Regions from separate parts of the Homo sapiens genome. Here all the other regions are linked to region 1. The links are contacts of gene promoters, found by promoter capture Hi-C in human tissues and cell types (Jung and others, 2019). All regions are on one chromosome and are shown on one strand. Each heading gives the region's core, a stretch centred on a gene start or on the middle of the fragment in contact. The rest is flanking DNA. Distances are from core to core; before and after follow the strand shown.

Evidence for each region. Contacts are between HindIII fragments. The study calls those that stand out against the background at their distance.
Region 2: a fragment that was not itself captured here is called in contact with the fragment with the promoter of TBX3 in region 1 in 3 of the 25 tissues and cell types used here (lymphoblastoid cells, small bowel and stomach).
Region 3: a contact is called between a fragment that was not itself captured here and the fragment with the promoter of TBX3 in region 1, in 1 of the 25 tissues and cell types used here (H1 embryonic stem cells).
Region 4: a contact is called between a fragment that was not itself captured here and the fragment with the promoter of TBX3 in region 1, in 1 of the 25 tissues and cell types used here (mesenchymal stem cells).
Region 5: a fragment that was not itself captured here is called in contact with the fragment with the promoter of TBX3 in region 1 in 1 of the 25 tissues and cell types used here (IMR-90 fibroblasts).
Region 6: a contact is called between a fragment that was not itself captured here and the fragment with the promoter of TBX3 in region 1, in 1 of the 25 tissues and cell types used here (heart left ventricle).
Region 7: a contact is called between a fragment that was not itself captured here and the fragment with the promoter of TBX3 in region 1, in 1 of the 25 tissues and cell types used here (aorta).

What each region holds. Positions count from the first base shown.
Region 1 is chr12:114,682,248-114,686,545 of GRCh38, forward strand. TBX3 (T-box transcription factor 3) reads right to left here and starts at 1,928. Exons shown (of 7, transcript NM_005996.4): 1 at 565-1,928. The coding sequence starts at 953. It overlaps TBX3-AS1 (TBX3 antisense RNA 1), which reads left to right and starts at 45. Exons shown (of 2, transcript NR_187552.1): 1 at 45-387. RefSeq lists a promoter at 1,930-2,439 and an enhancer at 3,750-4,298. The HindIII fragment of the contact is 7,860 bases long and covers 1-4,298 here.
Region 2 is chr12:115,576,381-115,580,678 of GRCh38, forward strand. All of the region lies in intron 1 of LOC105370003 (a long non-coding RNA gene), which reads right to left. Among named protein-coding and RNA genes, the nearest start is that of LINC02463, 310 kb to the right of the region's middle. The HindIII fragment of the contact is 8,093 bases long and covers 1-4,298 here.
Region 3 is chr12:115,493,054-115,497,351 of GRCh38, forward strand. The region is part of intron 2 of LOC105370003 (a long non-coding RNA gene); the gene reads right to left. Among named protein-coding and RNA genes, the nearest start is that of LINC02463, 390 kb to the right of the region's middle. The HindIII fragment of the contact is 3,866 bases long and covers 88-3,953 here.
Region 4 is chr12:115,471,785-115,476,082 of GRCh38, forward strand. All of the region lies in intron 2 of LOC105370003 (a long non-coding RNA gene), which reads right to left. Among named protein-coding and RNA genes, the nearest start is that of LINC02463, 410 kb to the right of the region's middle. RefSeq lists an enhancer at 2,474-3,673. The HindIII fragment of the contact is 3,603 bases long and covers 351-3,953 here.
Region 5 is chr12:115,383,725-115,388,022 of GRCh38, forward strand. The region is part of intron 3 of LOC105370003 (a long non-coding RNA gene); the gene reads right to left. Among named protein-coding and RNA genes, the nearest start is that of LINC02463, 500 kb to the right of the region's middle. RefSeq lists a silencer at 3,920-4,214. The HindIII fragment of the contact is 5,625 bases long and covers 1-4,298 here.
Region 6 is chr12:115,316,112-115,320,409 of GRCh38, forward strand. All of the region lies in intron 7 of LOC124903082 (a long non-coding RNA gene), which reads right to left. Among named protein-coding and RNA genes, the nearest start is that of LINC02463, 570 kb to the right of the region's middle. The HindIII fragment of the contact is 3,067 bases long and covers 754-3,820 here.
Region 7 is chr12:115,249,006-115,253,303 of GRCh38, forward strand. No RefSeq gene overlaps it. Among named protein-coding and RNA genes, the nearest start is that of TBX3, 570 kb to the left of the region's middle. The HindIII fragment of the contact is 3,281 bases long and covers 532-3,812 here.

The DNA.
Region 1 (4,298 bases), core at 678-3,177:
CAGACACGTGAAGTAGTGTGGGCAAACAAACCAAAATGCCCTTCGATTTCTCTCTGACCAGGGCAGCAGCAGGCCCCTTTAGACCCAGAGGCTAGACTGGAGGGCAGAAAGGGCCGGGGAATGGTGTCAGGCCTCCCAATACCCACACAAAAGGAAAGGGCTTTAAGTTTTTCTCTCTGAGAACAAAATAAAACAGACAACACAACATCAACAAAGAAATAAGGATGTTCCAGGAGGGTTTGAAGAGTGAGTTTCTTGCAGTAGAGTGCCTTTTTTTTTTTTCTTTCCTGCTCCCTGCAGGGATGTCTGTGCTCCACTGAAAAATTCTGTCTGTTCGGGAGGGAACCCAGGATGCAGACCAAATGCAAGACCCATGCAGATGCCCAGGTAAGCTGAAATTTCCTGCCACCGGGGCAGGGCCTGGAAGTCTGTGCATACATTTCTAGGGGAACTAACTTTTCGTCCAAGCCGTAATAACCGACCAACCGACTGTTCTGGGAGCAGAGAAATAAAGGGAGGAAAAAACTCTCCAACAGCTTAGGGGAGGAGGCCCCCACTGCTTACCTTCCCGACTTGGTAATGACCATCTCGGTGCCCCGCTTGTGAAACTGATCCCAAAGTTCTTTAGCCTCCAGGTGCACCTTGGGGTCGTCCTCCACCTCTTCTTCGGGCTCCATGGTCTTCAAAGGCCTCAGATGCGCCTGGGGCCCCAGGGAGGAGAACGGGATGCCGGTCTCGGCCGCCCCCACCAATTGATCCATGATCGGCTTGGCCAGGGCGCCCGGCAGCGAGAGCGCCGCCGCGCCGTTGGGAGGCAGCGTCAGCGCGGGGAAGAACGGCGGCTGGTGACCCAGCACCGCGCTCATGGCGAAGTCCGGCGCCCGGTGAGGTAGGAACGGATGGTAGGCCATGCTTGTCCCAGGAATGACCGGATCTCTCATGGAGAGGCTCATCCACTCCAGGCGGGGCGCTGGGCTCCAGCCGGGGACAAGTCCGCAGCTGCTGTGTTTTGTTGTTTTTTTGTTGTTGTTTAACAGCAGCACATAATTCAAAAGGGGGGAAAAAGCAAAACAAAAAAGAAAGAAAAAAGAAAAGGAGGCAGAAATCACAACTAATGCACTTCAAAGGGAGGAGGGGAAGTGTCTTTTGGAGAATGGGAGGCCGCTTTTAAAGAGGGCAAGGCGAAAAATCAGCAAACATAGTCGCGCGGGTGACCGTCCTTGTGCCTTGCGTTTTTAAAAAGCCGCTCCTGAACGTCGGTTTCAGAAGCGAGAGGAGCGAGCAGGGTCTCGACTCGCGCCCGAGCCCTGCCGCTGAGCTCGAAATAGACACTCCAGCCCTGCGTCCCAGGAATCTCTCTCCAGCCCCTAGGTCTTTTGTTGCAAATGTGAAAGGTTCTCCTAGAAGACTTTTTACCTTTCTTTTTCTTCTTCCCCCGCCCCCTATCTGTCTTCCTCTCCCTCTTTCTCGCTGGTGGCGTCTGCAGCTGTGCTAGACCCGGCTTTAACAGGGAGCGAGAGAGCGGAAAAAGTCTCTCTCCTTTAAAAAAAAAAAAATCTGATTTAAACCCCCTTCTACCAGCGCTATCAAAACTTGAATTGCAAACTGGCTTCCGTTCGCCGCCCTCCTCCTCCTTCCTCTGCTCCGAGCCTCCGGAGGGTGTCTCGGTTTCAATCCAAATCTTGCTGGGCTCTTCTCCCGTGCCTCTCTCTCTTCCTTGTCCTAAAACGTGAGCGAATTCGCTTCCTAAATCTGTGTCCAGGCGCGCAGGGCAGGGAGGATTTAGAGGGGGAAAAAATGGAACAGAGGGAAAGAGAGGGAGGGGAGAGAGAGAGAGAGAGAGAGAGACGGAGTCGGAGAGGGAGGGAGCGAGAGAAAGCGAGAGCTCCTCGCCACCCTCCGCCGCCTCTAGAATTCACCGGGCGTCTGCTCGGCGGCTCTAGAAGGTCGGGCTGCGCTGTGGGCTGCGGGGAGCCGGAGGCCTCTTGATTGGCTCTTTGACGCTTTCGGACCAATTGTGTTGCTGCATAGGCGTGGTTTTCACAGGTCGAGTGCTGGGGGATAGAGCTGAGTTATAAAAAGAAGGTGTCGGAAACTGTAACGTCGCAGCGCCGCATCGGTACTACTGCCTGTCCTGTGAATATGTCAACATGATCAGAGGGCGGGCGGGAGCCACTGGGGAGCGCGCGCGCACAGAGTCGCCTCTAGGTGGCTTATCGAGAGATCGCTGCAGCCCCTGAGCTCGCTCGCTCGCTCTGGTTCAGCCCACGTCTGAAATGCCTCAGTCATCCAGCCGGGGATCGAGGGAGGAGGCAGGGCCAAGGAGGAAGGGGGAGGGAGAGAGGGAGGGAGCCAGCGAGCAGGCGAGCCGGGCGGGGAAGGCGGAGAGCGCGCCCGGGCGCCGGGCAGGGGCGCTCGCCTCTCTTGCACTCCGCTCGCCTCTCCGACCGCCGCGGCCGGTTCTCTCTCCAGCTCTCCTTCTTCTCCCCGCCCCGGGCGAGCCGGGCGGGTGGCCGAGCCTCCCCGCGAGCTGCCATCCGGCCACTCGGTTCTACAAAAGCCGGCGGCAGCCGAGAAGCGAGCGCCGAGACTCCAGGCTTGCGTGCTCTCCAGCCCCACGTGGAGCCAAGCTCCGCCCGGCCGCCGCTGAAGGGCTCCCGAGCTCGGGTGTCTCGGTGCTGGTCTCCCCTGCGTCTGGGCTGGGGGAGCACAAGGATGCGGCCATATCTCAGCACACGCATGTGTGGGCTTCCTCTCCACTGCGCCCCACCCGCAGCCATGTGCGGGTACCCAAACACCCCCGGTGTATCTGTACTCGAACACGCGCCAACACACTGGGACTGAAACACACACCGAAAAACACGTACACACAAACACGTACACAGCCTGCGCGGCTGGCCCTGCCTGAGCTCCTGGGGAAGATGGATTTGGGATTTTTATGAAATGCATTTACCAGCCCTTTTGGATCTCGTCTTTCATTTGCATGCGGGCCCCCATATTCCACCTGGATGTGGGTGTGGGTGTAGAGAAGAGAATGGAGGATCTGGACAAAGCGAGCACAGCGAGAGACTGGGTTCTGAGCCTGTCCCCTCCAAGCCGCTGCCCTCACCTCGAGGCCCGGCTGGGTGCACAGCACAGGGTAAGGGGTGGGCGATTGGGTTGGGGGAGGCGCGCCAGCCTGGTATCTTCTCTAGGCATCGCACTTATCTCTCGGTGCCTCAGTTCTTTCTCCACCCCGGGGACTTAATCTGGCCAGAAGTCGGGGAGGGAGGGTGAATTTGTAAAACAAACCGTGAAACGCCCCCACCTCAGAGGCGAGTTGACTGTTTTTAGTACGGGTAGGGTGGGGGCCTCCTCTTAGGCGGACGGGAGGGAAACGACCGGATCTTACCAATCGCCGAATTACCAACTCTGTTACCGCAGCGCCCGGTCGGGGTCAGAGGATTCGCCTAAGCCCACAGTTCTTGATTCTGGGGGCCAATGTCTTGGACCATCCTTGCTTAGATGGAGGGAAATCTTGAAAACAATGTTCTTTTATCTTTCCTGAGATGAAAGCTTCTTCGATGGAAAGGGAACGGAGAAAGGGCTGATCTGGGGGCTTAGGGGTTTAAGAGACTCAGGGCTTTGGATGTGTGTGTCTCTGTAGGCCAGCACAGGCCTCTCTCGCATTTTGCCTTGTGCACCCGCGCAACCCCCAGCAACCCCGAAACCCCAACGTGGCACCAAGGGAAGGGTGAAAATGAAGTGCTCTTGTGGGCCAACCACGCTGAGATAGGGGAGGATCTTTTGAGGCGACAGGCTTCTCCAGCCTCGCATTTTTGACGCACATGGTTAAGAGAGCTTGGCGCCAGCGTTGAGAATTCCCTGAAGTCACCAGAGAGAATAGTGTGGTTCTGCGAACTCCGTCTGGCTCGCCATCTCGCCCCTTTCTTTCCCTTTCAGTCTGTCTTTCTCTGGCGTCCTCTCTGTCTCTGCCAGTGGTTAAAATAGAGAAAGGAGAGAGAGGGAAAATTACGAGGTGGTGGTGCCCCAGAGTGTTGGCTCATAACACCCCCTCCCGCATCCCCTCCTCCCCACCTGAAGGGTGCGAAAGGCCAGGCCATTTCCCGCCTTACACAGAACACGGAAGTCACTGCAGGGTTTCATGAGTCTCTGGGGACCCCCGCCCCAAAAAAAAGAAAAAGAAAAGAAAAGAAAGAAATAGAAAAAAAAAGTGCACCCCCTCCCCCAGACTGCTCGCCTCCGGGGCCTGGGGCCCCTTCGCTGCTCTTTCAAGAGCGGCCCCAAATCCCAGCGAT
Region 2 (4,298 bases), core at 1,113-3,612, 890 kb after region 1:
CCATTTAGAGCCCCCAGGGGCCCCAGGCTCCTCCCTGCTCACATCTTCCTGCTAAGTCTTGGTCAAACTTATCTCCTCTGCCCTGTATTTTAATTTTTCAAAGTCCAGGTTTTTTCTCTGTCTTTCTCTCATTATTTAAGGCTCGGTCTGACCTTTCCCCCTCCACTGTCTTCCTTTCATTCAGCTTCCTATCCAAATACAAGCTTTCCACACACCCACAGACTCTGTGTTCTCAAGTCTGGACTCCCACACTTGTTCAGCTCATAACCAGCACGAGTACACATCCCATATAGGTATCTACTCTGCACCAATAGGCATACTGCATGCACCGTGTGCACATCTCCATGATCACCCATGCTGGCAATGTGTGCTAAACCCGTGCATGCCTGCCGAGCACACCCACAGAGTGAACACACATGGGCACACACATGCACATACATAAGAATGTCACTATAGTAGCTAACATTAATTGAATGTTTACTACATGCTAGGGACTTTTCTATGAAATACCTTCTCTAGTCCTCACCACAACTCATGAAAGAGGTAGGATAATCATCTCCATTTTACAGATGAGGAAACTGAGGCTCAGAAAGGTTAAGTAACTTGCCCAAGATCACACAGCTAGAAAGTGACAGAGGTGAGATATGAACTCAGACTCTCTAACACAGAGTCAGCAGATGATGGCCCAGGGTCCAAATATGACCAATCACCTGTTTTTGTAAATAAAACTTTATTAGAAAACAGCCCCGGTCCATTCATGTATATATTGTCTGCCTCTGCTTATGCTACAAGGGCAGGGTTGAAGAATAGTGACAGAGACTAGATGGTTCACAAAGCCAAACGTGTTTGCTATCTTGCACTTAATAGAAAAAGTCTGCTGAACCCTGGTCTAACTCCAGAGTCTCCCTCTTATTCACTGTACCTGATGGTAGTTTTCCTGGTAGAATACTGATACACAGCTTCCATTTGAACTAAACTTGCAGTTAAAAAGAGGGGTGGGGAGAGTTGTTCTAGCCCAGCTCTCTTTTGCTTTATAGATGAGAAGACTGAATGCAGAGAAGCTCAAGGTCAAAAGCAAGGTCAGCCTGTACTGAGTATGAGCACACACACATCCCATGTTCTATTTCTTGTGCTCAGTCTGCAAAGCTGGAACATGTTCCTAATTCCCACGCACTCTGGCTGAGTGCTCACATGGAATGCACGTGTGCCCATGAGCTCACGTTTACATCTGAGTGTAGGTGCCCTGGCACATACCACCCCCCCACACACACACAGTGGCCTCTGTAACATGCCCACACACTCAGCTTGCAGATAGACACCCTATCACGCTGCTCTGCACTGTGAAAAGCTACCCTGCCCACAGGCAACCGCTATAACGTACAGACAAGATGCCTCCTTCCTGTTCACTCAGCAAGCACACACAATCGATGGGATAGAATGCTGGCATGTGTCCTCCCCCAACAAAGCTTAGGGTGGTGCAAAGAGGCAGGGGCTGGTGATCGGGGCATCCAATTGGTAGCCCCACATCTGCCTCGGGTTTCTCAGGGCCCCCAGTCTTCCCATGTGTAAAATAAAAGGCGTCAGCCACCGCTTCACATTTTTTAGGTAAATTCATTTAAAGGTGAAATTCACAACATAGTTCTTACTGGAAAACCAGTATCACTTGTCAAAAAAGTAACTACAAAAAAAGCAGCAAGTCAAAAAAGTGACAAGACAATGCATAGAATGGGAGAAATTATTTGCAAATCATGCATCTGATGAGGGAATTGTATCAGAAGATATAGAGATCTCTTACAACTAACTCAATAATACAAAGGACAAAGACCCCAATTTAAAAAACGGGCAGGCCGGGCGCGATGGCTCAAGCCTGTAATCCCAGCACTTTGGGAGGCCGAGGCAGACAGATCATGAGGTCAGGAGATCGAGACCAAGCTGGCTAACACGGTGAAACCCCATCTCTACTAAAAATACAAAAAAAATTAGCCAGGCGTGGTGGCGGGCAACTGTAGTCCCAGTTACTTGGGAAGCTGAGGCAGGAGAATGGCGTGAACCTGGGAGGTGGAGCTTGCAGTGAGCCGAGATCGCACCACTGCACTCCAGCCTGGCAACAGAGTGAGACTCCGTCTCAAAAAAAAAAAAAAAAAAAAAAAAAAAGGCAAAGGACCTGAATAGATATCTTTCCGAAGAGATTATACAAATGGCCAATAATCACATGAAAAGATGCTCGGCCATTAGGAAAATGCGAACCAAAACCACAAGGGAAGAACATTTCATATCCATTAAGAGGGCTGTGATCAAAAAGACAAATAAAAAGTTTAGGGAGAATGTGGAAAAGTTGGAGACCTCCTCTACCACTGGTGAGAATGGAAAATGGTACAGCCACTATGGAAAACTGTCAGTTTCTCAAATGGTGATGACCCAGCAATTCCTCTCCTAGCATATACCCCAAGATAAATAAAAACATACATTCACACACCCAAATTAATTGTATACAAATGGTCATAGCAGCATTATTCATAATAGCAAAAAAAAAGTAGAAAGCCAAATGTCATTAGCTGAATAAACAGAACGTGGTTTATTCACGCAATGGGATATGATTTCACCATAAAATGGACTGAGGCATGGACACATGCCCCAACATGGATTAACCTTGAAAAAATGATGCTAAGTGAAAGAAGCCTTGTATTATTCCATTCATGTGAAATGTCCAGAATGGGAAACCTACAGACACAGAAGGAAAGTAGATAGTAGATTAGTGCTTGCCCAGGGTTGGAGGAGATGGGGGCAGTGGGGGTGATGGCAGAGAGGCATCGGATTTCTTTTAAGGATGGTGAAAATATTCTAAAATCAATTGTGGTGATAGATGTACAGCTCTGTGAATATACTAAAAACCACTGGATTATACACCTTATGCGGGTGAGTTGTATGCTATGTGAATTTCAATAAAGCTGTTAAAAATAAATGTAATGAAAGCAAGTGCATTATTAAATTCTAGCTGGATACAGTTGCCCACTTAAGGTGTTTCACCTGTGGCTGTTCTCATTTTATTAAAAAGAAAGATTAGCAGCAATGGGGAAAATGTTAAAGACATACTCCAAGATGGGGAAACTTTCTTTTTAGTCCAACCGGATAGATTGAAGGAAAGTTGAAAGGGGAAAATGTTAAAGACATACTCCAAGATGGGGAAACTTTCTTTTTAGTCCAACCGGATAGATTGAAGGAAAGTTGAAAAGAGGATAATCTCTACGTGATACAGAGTATTTAATTCTGGTCCTCAGCTCATCAAATCCTATCTCAGGTAACCCGGTAGTACCTGCCCCATCTTTAGAATCATTGAAGATAGCTGTAGCCTCTTACCTTGGATTTTCGCTCCTGCCCTTGTCCCCTTTCAGCCTGTTATTAGCAAGGCTGGCAGGGTGATTGTGTTAAATATTAAGAAGCAATAGTTAGATCACACCCCTTCTTTGCTCAAAACCCTCCCATGGCTCCCATCTCACTCAGAGTAAAAGCCAAATTCTTACGATGGCCACAGGGCCCCATATGCTCTGGTCACCGTGTCTCCCTAACTCTCTGACCTATACTTACCTTCTGTTCATCCTTCTGAGCCCATGGGCTTCCTCACTGCTCCTTAAACACACTCTCTACCTGACCACTCTGGGGCTTTGCAATGCCATTCCCTCTGCTCAGATGCTCTTCCCCCAGGCAACGTGCATGGCTCACTTTTTCACTTCCTTTGAGTGTCTGTTCCAATGTCAACTTAGCAGGGAGGCCATGTCTGACCACCCTATTCTCTACTCCATTTCCAGCCTCACGCAGTTTTACCCCCTTCCCTGCTTTACTTTTCTGCCTAGTCCATATCACGAGCATATTATTTATGCATCTGTTGATGACTTCTTTCCACCAGGATGTCAGCTCCATGAGGTTGGGGACCTTGCCTGTTGTATTCACTTCTATCTCCTAGAACAGCGGCTGGCACAGAGTATGTGTTTTAAACATATACATTCAATGAATGAGTGAAAGGCTGAGTGATTGGAAAATCGTAGACTAGGTGACACTTCAGTATCCCTCTAATCCTAATAGTCTATAATTTAATTCTTGATAATGGAATGTGATTCAACAATTAGAGCTAGGAGTCTGGACACCCATCCTGTAGGGTCCTGTGATTTTTTCCAAATCGCTCATATGGTCTTCCCTATGAAGACCATATTCCTTTCAATTCCCCAATAGGGGTGAACTCTTCCTGCCCAGACCTGCAGAAGATTGCTTAGATGACATTACATATGTTTTATTGAGCTCTC
Region 3 (4,298 bases), core at 771-3,270, 810 kb after region 1:
CTGACGCAGGAGAATCACTTGAACCTGGGAGGCAAAGGCTGCAGTGAGCTGAGATTGCACCACTGCGCTCCAGCCTGGACGACAGAACAAGACTCCATCTAAAACAAAACAAAACAAAACAAAAAAACAAAAACCTGTCTTCCCAGGAGTTCCATATACCAGCTCTTCTTTTATTTCATCGACCAGAGCTTAATTGCATGGCCGCAGCACAAGTAAAGTTGGACAATGTAGTTGTTTATGCCTGGTGACCCTGTGCTCAGCTAAAAAGGGGGATTTCTGACACAGAAAGTTCAGAGTATTTGACAGTGCTTGGAATTTGGGGAAAGAAAACTTCAGTTCAAGCCCCTTCTATGTTACTTACCTTCTGTGTGAACTTAGGCAATTCCCTTAACCTCTCCAAACCAGTTTGCCCACCTGTGGAATGGGATCAACAGTATTCACTTCACAGTGGTGCTGGAGTCTTAACTGAGAAATGTAATTTGAGTGTAAGAGCTTTGCAAAGTCTAAAGCCAAGTGTGTGTCGGAAGAACCATTTTACTGCACAGAATATTTTCCCTTACTCATTTGATTCTCCAGTATCTGGCAAAACTAGAATATTTCCCGGGGGTTACTGTTCCAAGCTTTCTCTTCTAAAGATCCTGACAATGACCTTTCTGCTTAAAGGCTGTTCTTGGAGATAGAATTCAGGAACTTTCGACTGAGGCTTTGAATCATGATACTGGCATAGGGGTCAGGTAAGAGACATCCTACAAGAACAAGAGATAAGGCATACTTGTGAGGACATCAGAGGCCATAATCAATACCCCACATCACACTCAGAAGGAAACCCCCCGGGGCCAAGAGGGGGTCTGGTGTGCTTGGAAGGCCAGGAAAATATCCATGGTGCCTGGCTGCTGGACGGAGTTTCAGGGAGGCAATTTCTCTTAGAGCTGTATGAAGAGAAGAATCAAAAGGAACCTGAGTTGTTAGGAAAGGTGCTTAGAGAGGGAGAAGGATTTTAGCTATAGCAAAACCACTAACTGCTAACTGTGAGCTTACTGTGCATGAGGCACCCTGCTTTGCTCTTAACATGTAATATTGTGCTGAATCCTGGATAGAGCACCTTGAGGATGTCATTTTATGTTCCCCCATTTACAGATGAAAAGTTTCATGTAGGTGGCAAAGTGGCTTGCCCAAGGTCATGCAGCTAGTAAGTGGTACAGATAGGACAAGTTATGATAGATAAGCAGGAACAGAAAACGCATTTCGTGTAACAGGGATCTATGAGCGAAAACCAAGAGGCTGAAAGTGCATGGTATAGTGAAGCCATGAAGAAACCAATTCAAATAGATCAGGTGGTTCATGGAAGGGGATGGGATAGGAAAAAGTAAGTCCAAACCACATAATGGAAAGCATTGAATTCTGGGGTAAGATCCTTAGACTTTACTCCAAAGGTAGCAAGAAGCCATGGGAGGTTATTGAGCAGGATTGTGACACAATAAAGGAAGACTTGGGGACATTTTTCCTGAGCAGGCTGTTTAAAATGGATTCTCCAAGTTATTATTGGCCCCATTGAGCAGATGAGGAAACTGAGGTTACAAGAATTTCATGAGCTTTCTCAGGTCATAGAGCTAGGAAGTGGCAAGAGCAGATTTGAACCTCGGTTTTTTGTTTATCCCACCGCATGGTAGGCAATGGTATTTCCAAGATTTAAAAAGTCACACACATTAAGTCAAAATGTCATTAAACCCTTGGCATAGCACATCATCCAGGTTACCATGATGTCAGGCGAAGGACGATCAAGAAGAAGCCAGGGTTTTAGTAGTGGTTGCAGGAGCAGGCCTTTTTCCAGGGGCCTACATGTGGGGCACACGTGTAGGTTAAATTCTGAGGGCAACTTTCTGAGGGCTACCTGCATGCATCTTTGCCAAGACTGATCCCTCAGTGACCTATGGTCTTACCTGCCTCTCATCCCTGGGGAGGAGGAAGAAGCAGAAAGATGTCTCCATTTGTCACCCTGGTAAAGCAAGTAGGGATGTGAAAGCTCCAAGACCGGGGAGGGCCCCAGAGGCCAGCATTCTAAAAAATAATTGCTCTATTATTTAAGCAAAGCCACTTAATAGCTCATTAAAGGGGCAAAGACGATTATTGCCCAGATTTTTATCTGGGGAATCTCATAGAAATGCCAGAGTCATATTTCCAGGTAACCGAAGAATCTGAAAAGTACAGCAAAAGCTGAATCACAAAAATCCAGGTCACTTTGGCTGACGACTTTTTCCCCTCTTGAGGGGTTCACTGTACTTGGGAATGACCATAAATGTAGCCAAAGTTATCGAGCATTTCATATTCAACAGGAATTGTACTAAATGTGTGCCCATCATGTCTTGAGGCTTCGCAACAGCCCTACACAGAAGGTGCATTTAGTAGACCATTTTACAGGTGAGGAAACTGAGACTTGAAAAGGTGATGTCATCACTTGCCAAAAGTAACTAGGCTAGTAGGTAGCAGAACTGGGACTCAAAAGTAGATGGTTTGTCCATTCTGTTCTCAACAGATCTTAGCTTCAAAGCCCAGTCAAGGGGATCTTCAATAAATTCTGGGGGATAGGTGATCATAGCTTTCTGTCATCCAGGGCTGAAATTACCAAGGAACATGACAACAAAGAACAGCCAAACTGATATGGATGTGGAAAAGGGTAACAGACCTTGTGTTTTGCCAACCTTCATTTTGTAGCTCTCTGCATTGACAGTCACATTTCACCCAGCCAGGATCCTCCCTCTTCAAGTAGCCTTCCCTGATCCACTGGAAAGAACTCACATCTTCACCCTTGGAACTACCCATGTTGCTTACAACCTTGGCTCATTCATTGCAGACTGGGCTTAAAGCTGGAGAGACAGGAGAGTAGAGAAATATACACAGATAGGTAGACACTATTTGCTGAGCACTAACAATGTGCTAGGCACAGTGTCAAAGACTTTATGCCAAGGTAAGCATTGCCAGCTCATATTATAGAGGAGAAAGCTGAAACTCAGAGACAGGAGGTCAGCGGCCCTCATCCCCCAGCCAGTCAACTGCAAAGCAGAGATTCAGGTCTCCAGGTCTCCTGGGCAGGCTGCAGGTCTGTTTGCTAAGCCCACAAAGGGTTAAGCGGTTGCCCTTGACGCTCAACTCTCACTAGGCAGGAAGAGGATAAAGGAGGGATGCCCATTCCATGTGTATAGACCTAGAATCCGCAAACTAAGGCCTGAGGGCCAAATCCACTTACTGCCTGTTTTTGTATGTCCCGTGAGCTAAGAATAGTTTCCACCTTTCTAGAGAGTTGATAACAATAATAATAAGAATAATATTTTGGCTGGGCACAGTGGCTCACACCTGTAATCCTAGCACTTCGGGAGGCCAAGGTGGGCAGATCACCTGAGGTCAGGAGTTTGAGACCAGGCTGGCCAACATGGCAAACCCTGTCTCTACTAAAAATACAAAAGTTAGCCAGTCATGGTGGCATGTGCCTGTAATCCCAGATACTCAGGAGGCTGAGGCAGGAGAATCACTTGAACCTGGGAGGCAGAGGTTGCAATGAGCCGAGATTGTGCCACTGCACTTCAGCCTGGGTGACAGAGCAAGACTCCATCTCAAAAATAAAAATAAGGACTATTTTATGGCACATAAAGGTGATATGAAATTCAAATTTTAGTGTCCACAGATTAAGTCTTAGTGGAGCACAATTACACTCATTCATTTACATATTATCTAAGACTGCTTAGACTTTACAAAGGCAGAGATGAAAGTAATTGTCACAAAGACCATGTGGTGCACAAAGCTTGAAATATTTACTGTCTTACCTTTTAAGGAAAAGTTTGCCAACCTGTGGTGCAGATCATGAAAGTTCAACCTATTGGCATCATCTTGGCAAGTTCAAGGATGTGCAATGGCAGAAAAATCCTGGCTTCTTGGGAAAGGAAGAGATAGAGAAATACACAGACCTCCAGGAGTATCGCACAAGGGGTCACACCCTTAGAGGCAGTCAGGAGCACACAGATATCTAGGCATAAACCCACAGAGAAAAGCAAACATCAAGAGGACATGCAGAGACACACAGATATGGATAAATATCCTAGTGTACACACTCAAAAGCTTGGAGCCACCCAGGTGTAGTAGACACACAAGCATCTAAGTAAACACACACACACATACATAGGGGAAACACACACATACATAGAGGAAACCCTTCATGCACATAGACACAAACTCCCAGGGCCCCAAAAAGAACATGCCAGCTACCAGGTTTACAAATATATGTGATACTACATATGCATGGAGAT
Region 4 (4,298 bases), core at 902-3,401, 790 kb after region 1:
TGAGCAATGATGGATCTAGATAGCAGACACCACTCCAGGGAGATACCAGCCTCAACTCGCTTTTATTCTGGGGTGGACAGTAAAGTCAGTGTAGGCAGAATAATGCCCAACCCCCACCCCAAAGACTTCCACATCCTAATCCCTGGAATCCCCAGAATTTGGGAATATGTGACCTTACATAGCAAAAGAGACTCGTAGATGTGATTAAGCTAAGGACCCTGAGATGAGGGGATTATGCTGGATTACCCAGGAGGGTCCAATGTCATCACAAGGGTCTTCATAAGAAAGAAACAGGAGAGGCAGAGACAGAGGAGATGTGAAGGCAAGCAGAGATCAGGGCAATGCAACTACTGGCTTTGAAGAACAGAAGGGGGCCGTGAGCCGAGGCCTGTGAGCAGCCTCTAGGAGAAAAAAAGAAAAAAGCAAGGAAACTGATTCTCGTCTAAAGTGTCCAGAAGAGATGCAGCCCTGCCAAGACCTTGATTTTAGAACTTATTATCTCCGGAATTGTAAAAAAAATTGTAAATATGCATTGTTTCAGGCCACTGCATTTGTGGTAATTCTGTTGCAGCAGCAGTACTAAATTAATATAATGGGTAAGTTTGGGCTGTTCTCCAATCTCAGCCCTCTTAGGCACCCTGAAGAGCTGTGGTCAGTTGCAGGGTGTGACACATAACTTATTTCTAATCATTATTCAATCACTAAAGTTTGGGAATTATTTACTTAAAAGTTTAGGCCAGGCGCAGTGGCTCACGCCTGTAATCCCAGCACTTGGGGAGACTGATGCAGGAGGATTGCTTTAGTCCAGGCATTCAAGACCAGCCTGGGCAACAAGACAAAACCGCATCTCTACAAAAAATAGAAAAAATTAGCCAGACATGGTGGCACATGCTTGTAATCCCAGCTACTCGGGAGGCTGAGAGAGAAGGATTGCTTGAGTCCCAGAAGGGGAGGTTGCAGTGAGTTGAGAGTGCACCACTACATTCCAGCCTGGGTGACAGGGTGAGACCTTGTCTCAAAAAAAAAAAAAAAAAAAAAAGATTTAGAATAGGTTTCTGCATTTATTCATTCATTCAATAAATATTTATTGAACACCTCCTATGTGCCAGGTCTCTTCCTGGTGCTGGGATGAAGAGGTAATTGAGCCAGGTAAATAGCTGCCCCCATGAAAGTGACAATCTAATGGAATGACTCTATGGTGAAGAGGTGAACAGTTGAATGACTCACGTCATTGCAGATAATGATGAGGGCCATGAGGATGCTGGAGAGTGGACCAGAAACTGACCCTAACCCCACCCATGCCCACAACAGGGCACGTTCTGCAGGTCAACATCTCTGCTTAGGAAGCATTGCGGGAGATTCTATGCCAAGGAACATTTGAACCCTGCTGATGATGTTAGGGAAGACACTGTAGGTGATAGCAGAGTCTTAAGGGGGTTGAAGAAACGTGGGGTCAAGCCACTTAAGGGGTGCCCAGGCTACTTCCTATGGGCATCTCACAGGTCTCCTCAACCCAGTGACTTCGGGGCTATACAATAGCACTACCTGGGTGGCTTTTTAGTTGTTATTTTAATTATACAGTGGAAAGACAGTTTGGACATATAAACAAACACTTCTCAAATTCCAGCTGGCACATAGATCCCCTGGAACCTTGTCAAAATGAGACTGGTTCAGCAGGTCTGAGGTGGGGCCTGAGATTCAGTATTTCTTGCCAGCTCCCAGGGAATGTCCAAGCTGCCAGGCCACGGACCACACGCTCTGGATTAGCAAGGGGGTGGACAACCAAATTAGCCAAATTCCACCAACAGCCCCCAAATGGGTAAATCGCCAAGTGCAAAGGGTTAATAGTTATCTTCTTGTAACACCCCAGTAGTTTTCTGCACATGGGCTGCAGGGTACACTTATACTCTGACACTTACTAATTGTGGCATCTGGGGTAAGTTACTTCATGACCCTGTGCCTCAGTTTTTCCATCCATAAAATGGGATCATGATGGTATCTACTTCAGAGAGTTGTTATGAGGATTCAATGAGTAAATACAGGAAAAGTACTGCATGTCGTCAGTGTTCAATGTGTGGTAGCTATCCGAACTAACGTTTCTTCCCCTCTTTAGACCATAGCTTCATAAGGACAAATTTTGCACCTGATATTTTAAATGTGCTCTATGCTGAGCCTGGATTCTGGCACTTAGTAAGTGCTTTATATGTCTGTCACATCAATCAATGGCTTAATGAATGAAAGGATACAAGCAAACCAAATAAATTTAGTTTGTTTTGTTTTGTTTTGTTTTGAGGCAAAGTCTTTCTCTGTCACCCAGGCTGGAGTGCAGTGGTGTGATCTCGGCTCACTGCAACCTCCGCCTTCTGGGTTCAAACGATTCTCCTGCCTCAGCCTCCTGAGTAGCTGGGATTATAGGCGTGCACCACCACACCTGGCTAATTTTTGCATTTTTAGTAGAGATGGGGTTTTGCCATCTTGGCCAGGCTGGTCTCGAACTCCTGACCTCTAGTGATCCGCTTGCCTTGGCCTTCCAAACTGCTGGGATTATAGGCATAAGCCACCGTGCCCAGCCTCCAAATGAGTTTATTTTCAAAGGCACCGTCAAAGGAAGAAAAGGGGAAAGGGGGTAAAGGGAGAAATTCACATTTATTGATTAGCTATCCTGTGCCCAGCATGGCACCAGTTGCTTTTCATACACCATTATAGTTCATGCAGTCAAGAGGCCTAAGACAGAAGAAAGAGAGATCCTGCAGGTTGAGGCTTAAAGAGGCAAAAACACTTGCTCAGGATCTCGTGGCTGTTAAGTGACGAAGGTAGGGTTCAAAGCCATGCCTGCCCAAGCTGGTTTTCCTCACCAACCCTGTGACACAAAACCTTCTCTGACCCCCGGTATTTCCCATTAAGAGAATTAGTCACCGTTGGCTTTGATCGGCTGGGCTGGGCTGGCAATGTAGTCCTTAATGGCATTTCTCTCAGGCCCTTATCTTTATTAACTGTGAATTTATCTTCCTCCAGAGATAGGGCTCTGGGTGAAGGGCCCCCTGCCCACACCTAGGCAAGTCTTACCTGCTCTGAACGGACCAGCAGGTGACTGTGAGTCCTTTAATTGCCTTCTTCCTCACCTAACCCCTTCCCTTAAGTTCAAACCTGCACTGTAAACATGATCTCCAGGACCAAAGGTAAGGGAGGTGAAGCTTGTGGATATTAACCCATAAAAACCCTTGATAAGCCCAGCGCATTTCATAGCACCATAAATTAATTCTTGTCCTTCATAGCCTGTGAGGAGAGCAGAAGATGAAGAGCAAACTGAGGAGTCACGCAAGGCCAATGATTGCACAATTGGCGCCGAGAGATGCTATCTGAGTCGGAACAGAAGAGGCTGACCCCAGAGTGTCCCCTTCTAGCAGGTGAAGGGTTTGGGCCAGATCATCCTGTATGGATTGTGACATTGTATGAATTCGAAAACGAAAGAAAGCGCTCTGTGAAGGGGCATGAAAGGGCTTGTCCAGCCAGCATTTCATGGCCTGAGACAGTTCCTCTTAGAGTCCATGAGATATAAACAGGTGACTTTTTGTCAAGGCAGAGATTTCCCCCCAATTAGATTGAAACCCCCCTCCTCAGGGTGAGCCTAGAATTAGTGCAGTTTTGATAACTCAAAGAGTGATTGAACTCATTTCAGCCATGTCCTCAAAGTTCTGACCCCAGAGGCCACCTAAGTTCGCCATTTTCTGCAAGTCTTATGGTTCTAAAAAGTTATCTCTTATAATGCTTGAAAAGAAGGTTTAAGAATTTTCCAGTGTATGATGGTTCCGAACAAGCAGAGTCATTTCTCAAGAATTGTTTTTGCAAGGTTGTTTACGACTGGCTTTCTCACTTGTTTGCTTCCTTCTAACACAATTTTCTGAATACCGGCCATGTGCCAGATATTATATTATCAGCCACGGTATACCAGATATACATTTATGGCTTCCTGAAATTCCTGACCTAGTGGAGAATAAAGATTAATCTACCAGAAACTATAATACACTGTGACAAGTTACATGATTAGAGAGAAAATACAGTTGGGATTTTAAACGAACCACCACATGGGCTTGCTTTTGCTACACAGCAAATATCTCTCAAATTCTTCATTCATTTGGAGTCAGCAAATATTTGGAGAATACGAAATCACTTCATTAGTAGCTGAATGCAACCTACAAGGTAATCCATATAACACACTCCAAGGCCAATCATCAAATTCATTTGAATATTCCACTTCTTGGGGTTTCGTGCTCATCAATTCCCTACATGTATAGATG
Region 5 (4,298 bases), core at 1,312-3,811, 700 kb after region 1:
GAGCAAGGCTCACCTTGCCTGCTTAACTTTGAAGGGGGTTACCCCAAGCACGCAAATGAGTTGCTTTAAGCAACTCACGGCCAAAGAAATGAATCACTCCTTGCCCGTCATCTCTAGCTCCCCGATGATGTTTGCAGGCAAGCTTCGGGCCTGTGTAAACGTGAAGTAGGTCAGGCCACAAGCCAAGTCTGCAAGTAGCACAAGGAGTGACTGATTGCACAGTCAGTGAAAGTTTTGGACAATTTACCAGTTCAGGAAAACTACACCTACAACAAACTGGTTGCACCACCTTGTTTAGAATGAGCATCCACTGCCTCTACCACTCACGGAAGTGCTGGAGTTGACATCTAGGAAAACATCAAGGCTCCTGGGGACTTAGGGAGAGGGCACGCTGGTATATTTACATGTTCCTTGATAAAAATACAGCCCAAAAGACATGTTTACCACTGAACTTCAAAACCATTCCGAAGATACCAGTCACTCTTCTACTACAGTCAAAGTAGACCTTTGAAGACTTCTCAGAGAATTTAAAATCTTGAAGGGCCTCAGTGTTCTCTCTGGGGATGTCAAAGATATTTGTCAGAACTGGACAGGGCAATGATGAAGCAGCCTGGGATGCCTTCCTATACCCAGCAAAAAAAAAAAAAAAAAAAAAAAAGGCTTTGTTTTTTTTTCTTTCTTTTCTTTCCCTAATTTCTTATATGAGCATATTCCCCGTGATTCATTTTTTCCCTCTTAAGAGGTTTCTTTGGCCACCTGTGTTCCTGTGGAAATAGCAGCAATGCACACTTATTGAGCAAGCCCTATAGCTAAAAAAAAGTGTGAATCCCTTTGTATGATGTGTCATCCCCTTTACATTCACAACATTCCAGGCCAGGTGAGGTGTCTCACACCCGTAATTCCAGCCCTTTGGGAGGCCAAGGTGGGAGGATCACTTGAGGCCAGGAGTTTTGAGGCCACTCTAGGCAACAAATCAAGATGTTATCTCTACAAAAAGTACAAAAATTAGCCAGGCACGGTGTCATGTGTCTGTAGTCCCAGCTACGCAGGAAGATCGCTTGAGTACAGAAAGTCAAGACTGTAGTGAGCTATGATCCCATCACTGCACTCCAGCCTGGGCGACAGAGTCAGATCCTATCTCTTTAAAAAAAGAAAAATGAGCAATATACCTGTGAGTTGGTACTAATAGGTAATTGTGCCCATTTTACAAATCAAAATGCCAAGGCACTTGCCCAGTGTCAACTCACTGCATGAATGGAGGTGCTAGGTTTGGAATCAACATCTATCTCCAAAGCCCATATTCCTACCCTCTGCTATCCTGTCTCCTAACACTTTATTCAGATCTGTTTTTAAAAGTGCCTAACACAATATATATGATAATTTTTCCTGTTATGTGTCTGTTTCATTTGGTAACAGTAAAGTTAATGCTAACCACCATGTATTAAATAAGCACTTACATATATCAGGTACTGTGCAGGTGAATGTATACGCATTTTCTCTGATCCTGCTGACAGTCCTGTGAGTTGGGTGTCAGGTGCTCCATTATACAGATGAGCAAACAAGTTCAGAGAGGTTAAGTGTGTGGCCCCAGGCTAAGGAGCTCGTGAGCGGTAGAGCCAGTTTCATGAATCAGGTTTGATGGGCCCAAAGCCCATGTGCTTTGTCCTGTGCCTTAGCAACTCCCACTGGCTGTCAGCTTATCAAGGGCCGGGCTGGCATTTTATGTTCTTAGTGTCTCTGCAACCCAGCAAAGTGTCTGGCTGTGAACTAGGTGAACTGCAAAAAAAAAAAAAAAAAAAGTAGAATCAAGGGACCAAGTCAGTCATCCCAGTGCTCTGCTAAATATAGAGTTTAAAGTACAAGCTGGTGCAAGAACAAAGGAAAAAAAAGATGTTTATTTTTTAATGGATCAATTAGAGAAAGTTGAAAATAAGGAGTTATGCTCATCTCTTATATGCAAATGACTGAGTCCTGGATATGTATTGGAGCCCAGCAAATACGTGTTGAATGAATACACTCATATAAAGAGATCAACACTCAGATATTTAGTAGGCATCTCAAACTTGCTATTTCCACAACTATACTGATTATCGTCCCTGCATAACCACTCCTTCTGCCATCTACCCCATTTCCATAATTGCAAACTCTATCCTTCTCATCATCCTCAACTCCTCTTTCTCTCATGCCACGTGAATCCAGCAGCAAGTCCTGCCTGCTCTACTTTCAGGGTATCGCCCGAAATCTGACCACGTCTCACCTCTCCCAAGGCTACCTCCCTGGTCCAAGCCACCATCACCTCTCACTCGGGATGTGGCACCAACCTTCTTACTGGTCACTCTGTGGCATCCCGTACTCTCCACTTCACAGCCAGAGGGATCCTGTTACATCCTAAACCAGACCATGTCACTACTCTATTCAAAATGAGCAGCATGCTCCAACCTCATGACATTTGCACTACAGCCCCGTCTGCTTGGAATTCTCTGCTACAGAAATCTGCAAGGCATACTCCCTCATTCCCTTCCTTCAGGCCACCGCTCTGCCATCTGTCACCTCCTCAGTGAGCCTTCTCTGAATACCCTTTATCAAATAGAACCCTCTCCACTACCCCAGCACCCAGCCTTCTCTATTTTCCTTCACCTGCTTTCTTTTTCCCCATAGTCATGTTCCATTTGTATCTATGTAACACCTATGATGTACCAGCACATAAACTTCACAAGGGCAGAAGTATGTCTGTCCCAGCGAAATCCTAGGCACCCAGAACAATTCTGGCAAGGAGTAAATATTTGCTGAATGAATGAATAGTTTCTCTTTGCTCTGGAACATGTAAGGATTAGTCCAGAAGGGTACACTATTACTGAGATCAAAGTTGTTCCATAGAACTTTCCAGAATGATGGAAATGGTCTACATCTGCTTTATTCATCCAATACAATAGCTACCAGTCGCTATGTGGCTAGGAGCACTTGAAATGTATGTAGGACAACTGAGGAATTAAATTTTTTAAAAATTCATAGACCACTTTTTAGAGCAGTTTTAGGTTTACAGAAACACTGAGCAGAAAGTACAGAGAAAAGACAGTATTTTTTATTTTATTTTGTTTTAGTTTATTTAAATAGCCATATGTGGCTAGTGGCTACCATATTGGACAGAAGTGACTTAGACTGAGACTAAGAAGGAAGGCTCCTGCCTCCCTCACCGCTGTGTGTGCATCAGTCCCAGGAGGGAGCCTGTGGAAGGCCTGCCACGTTTTTCCTCCTAAGGACTCACCAGGGCCCCAAAGGCGGAGTCAGCCTTCCAAGCAGAGAAGTTTGCAGATCAACCTCTAGGAAAGAAGAAAGCAGACAGTGCAGCACAGAGAATCTTCATTGAAGATGTGCCAGTTGCTAAGGGAGGCCCCTGGCCAACTCACGTACATGTACGTCTTCTGATGAATGAGCCTTAGTGGGCCCCGTCTAACTCATCTTCTTCGCACATCCTCACCCCCTTCCACTCCTTTATGCTCTTCCTTTCATCTCTCCTCATCATCCCTGGGGCCCAAAATTGTTTCCTGTGCTTTACAGCTGGACTAAGGGACACCTTGGGCCCTTCTGCTCAAATCTGGCTTTTGGTTTCCATAACAACTAGTAAAGCACACAGCACTAAATACAACAAAGATTTCTCTCTCTCTCTCTCTCTCTCTCTATCTATATATAAATATATATATAAATATAGATAAAGAGTGCACACATCTATATATATTCACACACATATATACAGCACACACATGAATGAATGCAGACATACACACACACACACACACACACGTATATTCACTCACATATTTAAGGGTAAAGTGCAAGAAGGGTAGGAGGACTGAAGTCCAAAAAAGAAAGTAAATAAACCTTGACAACAAATAGAGACCATTCTAGGGAAGAGCAAAGGGACATGGAGCTGCCTATAATTAGCAGCCGCCACATCCCAAAACAAAATCAGACGTTCAGGCCTTGCAGCTTTGTTGCCATAGAAATGGGGCCCAAGATCCATCAGGCTGTCTTCCTAAAGCGATTCCGTCCCTGACCATGCCCACATCAAAGGGAGCCTCCCCAAGTTTCTTTGTGTTGTAGATGATACCCAGGACCCTACCATGTCTCCAAAGGGGGCAGGCAAGGAAAAGAAAAGACCTAGTAGAAAAAAATTCAGAAGTGTCTCAATCCAGACATGCTGGCTTCTCATGAGATACAGCAGGAGAAGGATTTAGCCAAGTAGCATCTTGGGGACTTTCTATCCTGTGGATGTGTTTACTGATTATTGGAGGCTGCCA
Region 6 (4,298 bases), core at 1,037-3,536, 630 kb after region 1:
CACAAAAACAAACTTAAAATGAATTAAATATTTAAATTAAGATCTGAGGCTATAAAGCTCCTAGGAAAAAATGGGAAAAAGTGTCCTTGATATTGACATTGGCAATGATTCCTTGGATATGGCACCAAAAGCACAAGCAACAAAAGCAAAAACAGACAAATTGGACTATATCTAACTAAAAACCTTCTTCACAGAACAAAAAAACTTCAAAATGATAATACAACTAACAGAACGGGAGAAAATGTTTGCAAACCATAGCTGTATATATCATTAAGGGTTGATATCCAAACGATATAAGAAACTCCTACAATTTACTAGGAGAGAGGGAGAGAAAGGGAGAAAGGAGAGGAGAGGAAGGAAGGGAGGGAGGGAGGGAGGGAGGGAGGGAGGGAAAGAATGAAAGAAAGAAAGAAAGAAAGAAAGAAAGAAAGAAAGAAAGAAAGAAAGAAAGAAAGAAAGGAAGGAAGGAAGAGAGAGAGAAAAAAGAAAGAGAAAGAGAGAGAGAAAGAAAGAAAGAGAGACAGAAAGAAAGAAAGGAAGGAAGGAAAGAAAAGAAAAGGAAAAGAAAAGAAGAGAGGAAGCAAAGAAATAAAGAAGAAAAGAAGGGAAGAAGGGAGGAAGAAAAGAAGAAAGGAAGGAAGGAAGTGAAGAAGAACCAGATTTTTCAAGGAGTAAAAGACTTGAATAGACATTTTCCCAAAGAAAACAAACCAATGACCAATAGCTATGAAAAGATGCTCAACATCATCAGAGAAATGCACATCAAAACCACAATGAGATCTCACCTCACACCTGTCAGGATGGCTATTGTCTTAAAAAGATAACAAGTTTTGGTGGGGATGTGGAAGAAAGAGAACTCTTGTATAATTTTGGTCAGAATGTAAATTGGTGCAACCACTATGCAAAACAGTACAGAGGTTGCTCAAAAAGTTAAAAATAGGTCATCATGGCTGGGCATAGTGGCTCACACCTGTAATTCCAGCAGTTTGGGAGGTCAAGACAGGTGGATCTCTTGAGGCCAGGAGTTTGAGTCCAGCCCAGGCAACATGATGAGACTCTGTCTCTAATAAAAATTAAAAAATTAGCTGGGTGTGGTGACACATGCCTGTAATCCCAGCTATTTGGGAGGCTGAGGCAGGAGAATCACTTGAATCCAGGAGGTAGAGGTTACAGTGAGCTGGGATGGTGCCACTGCACTCCAGCCTGGGTGACAGAGCGAGACTGTCTCAAAATAAATAAATAAATAAATAAATAAATAAATAAAAATAGATCATTATATAATCCAGAAATCCCACTTCTGGGTGTATATCCAAAGGAATTGAAATCGGAATTGCATTATTCACAATAGCTAAGACATGAGAGCAATCTAAATGTCCACTGACAGATAAACAGATAAAGAAAATTGGTATATACATATAATGAATTGTTATTCAGCCTTAAAAAGCAAGAAAATCCTGCCATTTGAAACAATGTGGATGAACTTGGAGGATATTATGGTAAGTGAAATAAGCCAGGCACAGAAGGACAAGTACTACATGAACCCACTTCTATGAAGAATCTAAAATAGTCAAACTCACAGAAGCAGAGAGCAGAGTGGTGATTGCCAAGCCTACAGGGAGGGTGAAACGGAGAGATGTTGGTCAAATGATACAAAGTTTTGATTATGCCAGATAAATAAGTCCTAGATATCCAGAGGACAACATAGTAGCTATAGTTAAGAATATTCTATTGTATACTAAAAATATGCTAGAAGGATAGATCTTACATTGTCTTCTTATCACAGTAATAATAACCATATCAAACAAAGAGGGCAGAAGGAAACTTTTGGAGGTGATTGAAATGATTATGGTGTTGATTGTGGTGATAGCTTCACAGGTGTACACTTATCTCCAAACTCATCAAGTTGTGTGCATTAAAGATGCACAGCGTTTCAATGTGAGTCATAACTCAGTGATTTGGCTTAAAAATGGACTGACAATAAAGTAAGAAAGACAGAAGTTAGATTTAAAGGGAAAATTCTGGTGCCTCAAAATTGCTGAGGTTCTTGAAATGGGAAAAGGCAATGAGCCTCCTCACTTCAAAGGACATTAGAGATATTTTTAATAACAATATCTTTAATCTCAGGATTCTATTCCCAGCATTGGTCCACCCAATCTCCTTGCTAACTGGGCAGATCCCTGCTTCTAGAAAGAAGGCTGTTAATTCTTTCTTTCTTTCTTTCTTTTTTTTTGAAACAGAGGCTTGCTCTGTCACCCAGGCTGGAGTGCAGTGGTGTGATCTCGGCTCACTGTAACCTCTGCCTCATGGGTTCAAGCGATTCTCCTAGCTCAGCCTCTGAATAGCTGGGACTACAGGTGCGTGCCACCACACCCACCTAATTTTTGTATTTTCTGTAGAGACAGATTTCACCATGTTGACTAGGCTCGTCTTGAACTCCTGACCTCAAGCGATTCACCTGCCTCAGCTTCCCAAAGTGCTGGGATTACAGGCATGAGCCACTGCGCCCAGCTGAAGAATGTTAATTTTTTTTGCTTGTTTTATTTTTATTCAAGATCAAAGTTTAAACAAATGGAGTAATGATAGTTTTTCTAGAAAAACATGAACATCATTATTTGATAATGAAAATGTCTTTACTGTTAAAGAAACACTGAACGCTTTTACACTGTTAGTGGGAGTGTAAATTAGTTCAACCATTGTGGAAGACAGTGTGGCAATTCCTCAAGGATCTAGAACCAGAAATACAATTTGACACAGCAATCCCATTACTGGGTATACCCAAAGGATTATAAATCATTCTACTATAAAGACGCATGCACATGAATGTTTATTACAGCACTGTTCACAATAGCAAAGACTTGGAACCAACCCAAATGCCCATCAATGATAGACTGGATAAAGAAAATGTGGCACATATACACCATGGAATCCTATGCAGCCATAAAGAAGGATGAGTTCATGACCTTTGCAGGGTCATGGATGAAGCCTGAAACCATCATTCTCAGCAAACTAACACAGGAGCAGAAAACCAAACACTGCATGTTCTCACTCATAAGTGGGAGTTGAACAATGAGAACGCATGGACACAGGCAGGGGAACATCACACATTGGGGCCTGTTGGGGGGTGGGGGGCTAGGGGAGGGATAGCATTAGGAGAAATACCTAATGTAGATGATGGGTTGATAGGTGCAGCACACCAACATGGCACATGTATACCTATGTAACAAACCTGCATATTCTGCACATGTATCCCAGAATTTAAAGGCTGTTAATTCTTAACACGCCTATCTCTAGAGGTCAGTCTAGAGATCTCTGACAAAATCGAAGTTTCAAATCATTAATCTCACAAATAAAATGACTCTAAAATTGTTAGAAAGGCACTGGCCATGGTAATCCTATTTAGAAACTAAGAATAAATAAATGTAACTTACAAAGTAGAGCTGAGTGTTAAGGGTAATTATAGATCTTCCAGAGTTTCCAACATATAATAGCTTCTATGACAGATTGTATAGATAAAACAATCTGTCCTAGTTAGGAAGCTAAAAAGCTTAGGCTGGAATTTACAACGCATCTTCCACATTTAAAGTTCTTGCTGACAACAGCTACAAGGCACTGCCTCCTATGTGCCCGGTACAACCCCTGCAGCATGGGAAGTGTCCGAGTAAACACCAGCTGATTGAATAAAAGACTGCTGCGACGAAGTCAGCTTAGGCACTCTGGAAGACCTGGGAGGGGCATGAGCAAAGCAGTCTAGGCCAGTGGTTCTCAAACTTTGGTTCCTGGATCAGTCATCCAGGGAAATTATTAGAAATGCAAATTCTCAGGCCCTCCACCCAGACCTACTGAAGCCGAATCTCCAAGGACGGGGCCCAGGAGTGTGTGTTTCAGCAAGCCTTCTGGGTGATTCTGATGCGCAATAAGAATTGAGAACCATTGCTATAGAACCTTGCTTCTCAAAGTGTGGTCTGTGTATCAGTGGTATCATTGTCACCTGGGAGCAAACAAGAAATGCAGAATATCAGATCTCACCTCGTACTTACTGAATCAGAATCTTCGTTTTAACAACATCTTCACTCAGAGAGTTCATTTGCAACTTAAAGCTTAAGAAGCACTGATCTTGGCCATTGGTTTTCAAACGTAGCTGCTCGTTAGAATCGCACGGACAGAAACTGGCGTGGTTATTCTGGGATGTGACCTGAACATCAGGATTTTCTAAAATTCCCCCAGATGATTCTAACATGCAGCAAAGTTTGAGAATCACAAGTGTCCATGACTTTAAAAAGGCTTTCCAGAGAAGGCAG
Region 7 (4,298 bases), core at 922-3,421, 570 kb after region 1:
ATGTGGGAATTTAAGATGAGATTTGGGTGGGGACACAGCCAAACCATATCAGCGGGGGATTAACATGGTATAAATAGGGTACAAGGTTAGTGTTCCCCACCATCGTGGTAGAAATATGGCCTCATTCTACGGATCCTTTCCTTGTTTCTCTGAAACACTGATATTCCCACATAAGCACTCTCTAGAAGGCATGGCCAATGTCTCTTAGTGCAGCTGTACCACCCTCCTCATGTTGGAGAACTTCTCATATGGAGAAGCTGGTTAGGAGAGAGTGTCTGGGGAAGACTCCCTGGGTTTGAATTCCAGCTAAACTAGTCAGTAGCTATATGATTTTTGATGACTTACTTAACCATCCTAGAACAGAGATTGTTAACCAGTGATAACTTTGCTCTCCAGGTGACATTTGACTGGAGACAGTTTTGGTTGTTCAAACTTGGGGATGAGAATACCACTGGCATCTAGTGGGTAGAGGCCATAGAAGCTTCTCAACATACTACAATGCATAAGAAAGCGCCCCACAACCAAGAATGACCCAGCCCCAAATGTCAGTTAGCGCTGAATTTGAGACTCCTATTCCAGAAGCTTCAGTTTTCTCATCTATAAATTCATCTGTAGTGTTTTCTCCATAGTAAAGATTAAATGAGCTGTAATAGATGCAAAGACATACAACAGACTATGACATATTGCAAAGCACTTGAGATAAATATTATTATTCCTTTGATTTTTATTCCAAGATTTAGAAACATACAATCATCCTGAGCTTGCAGGCCATACCCAAACAAGATCATGCTGGGGGCTGGATCTGGCAGACCCTGCTCTAGCCTGAGGTTGGAGCAGGAGATCTCAGAGGAAAAAGCATTGTGTTACTGTCTCCTTTCCAGCTCATCCTCCCCGACAGCCACCCCCTCTCTCTCCCTCCCCTCTTAGCCAAGCTTGGAGACTGGATGCAAAAGCCATTATTAAAAAATGAACATGAGTTGTTTTTTCCCCTTTTTGATCAAATAATCCAGTTTGCTGCCTCAGACAAATCATTATTCATGTGGAACCTGCCTGTGCCGCCCTTGGGGAGGAAGACCAAATTGATTTAACATCTAATCCAGTTTGTACCTCCTGCTAACCCCAGTGGTGTGCTAACTTCACCCTTGCAGGATAGGGAGGAAGGAGGTAGGAGAAAGGAGGGGGCAGAGGGAGACACAAGGAAATTAACCCAAGGCGTAAGTCTAAGCCCAGCTTTCTACAAAAGCAAGACAGAGACAAAGCCTGTCATTATAGTGCCCAGTCTTTCTGTCTTAGGCTTTCTCATACTCAGAGATATGTTTTCCTCATCCGTCAGCTCATTAAAATAATAACAACACAATCGAAATGCCAGCCTCTTACTCTGTGATGAGTGGAATCCCTGACATCAAGAGGCATCATGGTGCCCATTTTCCAAGCTAAGGAAGCTGAAGATTACAGAGATCAAAGAGCATGCCATGAGTGCATAGAAAGTTCTAGAACCAGGACTCACCATCAGCCCTGTCTACCCCCAAAGCCCCAAAGCCATAACCACCACATAAACAGCTTTCTGGATGTAGGAAGGCTGTTTGGAAGGATTCTATAGCTTTTTTCCATAAGGGTCATCCACACACAATGCTGCAGACACGTTTGGGTTGCCTGTGTGTGGTGGTTGAAGGGTCAGTTGATCCTGATTATTGCTGGATCTCTGAATTTCCTCCTTTTCCTCACTACTAAGCTTATCTTTCCATGTCTCTGGACTGGGGAGGCGGAGATGGAGGATATAAAGCAGTTTGCTTCCTCTGGATGGAAAGGTAGTGTCCTATGGCACTGGGCAGAGTCCTGGCCTCCGAGGGAACCTCAGAGAGGTCAGTAGCACTGACATGTCTCTGGCTGTGTCCCTCTTTAGTAAGTGGCACATTCTGTGACTGTTGTCCTGAGCCAGCAAGCGGGAGACTTGGGATTTTACTCCAGGTCTTTCTGGCTCCAAGCTGAGGTGCTCATTCCATTGGGTGGCACCGCACCCCCCACCCCCACACTGACTGTTCTTGTTTCCTCTCCTGTTCTGCATTAAAATTTGCACTTAAAAATGGCCTGAAATGTCCATACTGAGGCACCGTCTTTCAAGTGCAAACAGAAAGCAGCTTGAGACAAGCTTCAGGGAAAGAGGTGAAAAGGATAGGAAAGAGAAGGAGATGGAGCAGGCATGGGGCTGCCTATGCCCTAGGTCTCAGTTATAAGGGAGAGAGGGAGGAGGAGAGGAAAAGAGAAGGAAGAGGAGGAGGAGGAAGGGAAAGAGGAAGAAAAGAGGAGAAAGAAGGGAGAGAAGAAGGAGAAGAAGAGAGAAGAGGAAGGAAGAAGATGAGGAGGAAGAGGAGGAGGAGGAAGGGAAAGAGGAAGAAAAGAGAAAGAAGGGAGAGAAGAAGGAGAAGAAGAGAGAAGAGGAAGGAAGATGAGGAGGAAGAGGAGGAGGAGGAAGGGAAAGAGGAAGAAAAGAGGAGAAAGAAGGGAGAGAAGAAGGAGAAGAAGAGAGAAGAGGAAGGAAGAAGATGAGGAGGAAGATGAGAAGGAGAGAAGGGGAAGGGAGGGTGGGGAGAAGAGAGGCTTTCATATGGACTTTGAGAGGAGAGGTAAATCTGGTACTGATAGGACTGCAGGCATCAGAGTGAGTTGGGCATCAGGCAGCACCCCAGCTTTGTCCAGCACAGCGCAGCTCTGATGATAAAGTCCACAGTGAATGTGGCAGGAATGGGCATCCCCAGGGGCTGGCAGCTTTGGGAGGACCAAGAAACAGTGCTTGAACAGAATTGGTGTTTTGTGTTGGACTCCAGCAACCTGGCCGTATGAGATGGAGAGAGAACCTCCCACAAGGCTTTGGAGGCAGCCCCTTAACGGGGGTCATCATAATGGGAAAACAGATTACTCTTCAAGAATGTGTGCGAGGCAACCGCTAGGGATTCCAGAAATAACTGAGTGAGTCATTACGCATGGGAACCCCAAGCTGCACAGGTGAGAACCCGGAGATGGCAGTATTTGAGAGTCAGTGTTAGTGAAAATAACTTCACTGAGCCCTCATCCAGGCACCTTGTGTGTTAATACACTTAATCCTTGGGAAAAGGGAGCATTACCCCCCACTGTTTTATAAAAGGAAAATGGAGGTCTGGTTTATGTCATCACTTAGTGGCAGAGCAGGGATTTGAACCCATGCCGGTGGCTGCCTGGCGATTTCTCTGACCCTCAGGGTTCTTATGCCTGGCTCTGCCCTTGGCCTTATGGGACTTAAGGAAATGGAGATCACATTTGTTGCTCAGGATCTACAGCTCTGGAAGGAATCGCACCAAGGCATCAATGGCATCAGCAGGGCCAGAGGGCCCAAGTCCTCTGCATGAGTGCAAGCCATGGCGGTGTGCGCGTGGGTGCATTTCTTTATGGGCTTGTGGGTGCTTTTGTGTGTGTGTTCTTGTGTGCTTTTGTTTGTTTCTGTGCGCATGTGTCTTTCCATATGCTTTTGTGTTTGTTTCTGTCTGTGTGTTTGTGTGTGCATTTGTGTTTCTGTTTCTATGTTTGTTTGTATTTTGTGTTTGTGTTTCTGTGTGTTTATACATGTATTTGTGTGTGTTGATATGTGTTATTTGGATGTTTGTTTATCTTTTTGAGTCTTCATTTCTGTGTGTGTTTTTGTGTTTTTTGTGTGTGTTTGAATGTGCCTATGCCTGTATTTGTGTTTCTGTGTGTTTTTGTTTCTCTGCATGTGTGTGTTTCTCTATGGGCATTTCTATATGCTTTTGTGTTTGTTTCTTTGTGTTTCTGTGTATGTTTTTGTATCTCTGTGTATGGGTTTGTGTTTCTTTTTGTGTTTGCTTCTACCTGTGTATATGCATTTGCGTGTGTGTGTGTTGGCGTGTGTTTGTTTATATGTGTGTTTATATGGGTATTTGTGTCTATCTTTTGTGTTTGCATTTCTATATGTGTTTGTGTGTGTCTCTGTGGGTTGTGTGTATACTTGTGTATGTCTTTTGTGGAACTGAGGCTGGAAGACAGAGATGATAACTAACACCAGAACAGACTTCCCATAGAGACGAAACAGCATCACCAAAGGGTAAAGTAAATGAGACAGGCCAGCATCCCATCCTGGCTGGGAGCAACAGCTACATCTCCATTCCTGGGCTCTGCCCTCTCCAGTGTGGGGTGTGGACAGCCCCCAAGCCTCTTTCTTGTGCCCCTTGCAGCAGCCCCTTCATGCTGACTCATCACCACCAGGGCCAGCATCCATCTCACTGGGTTGATGCTGGTTCAGCAACTGC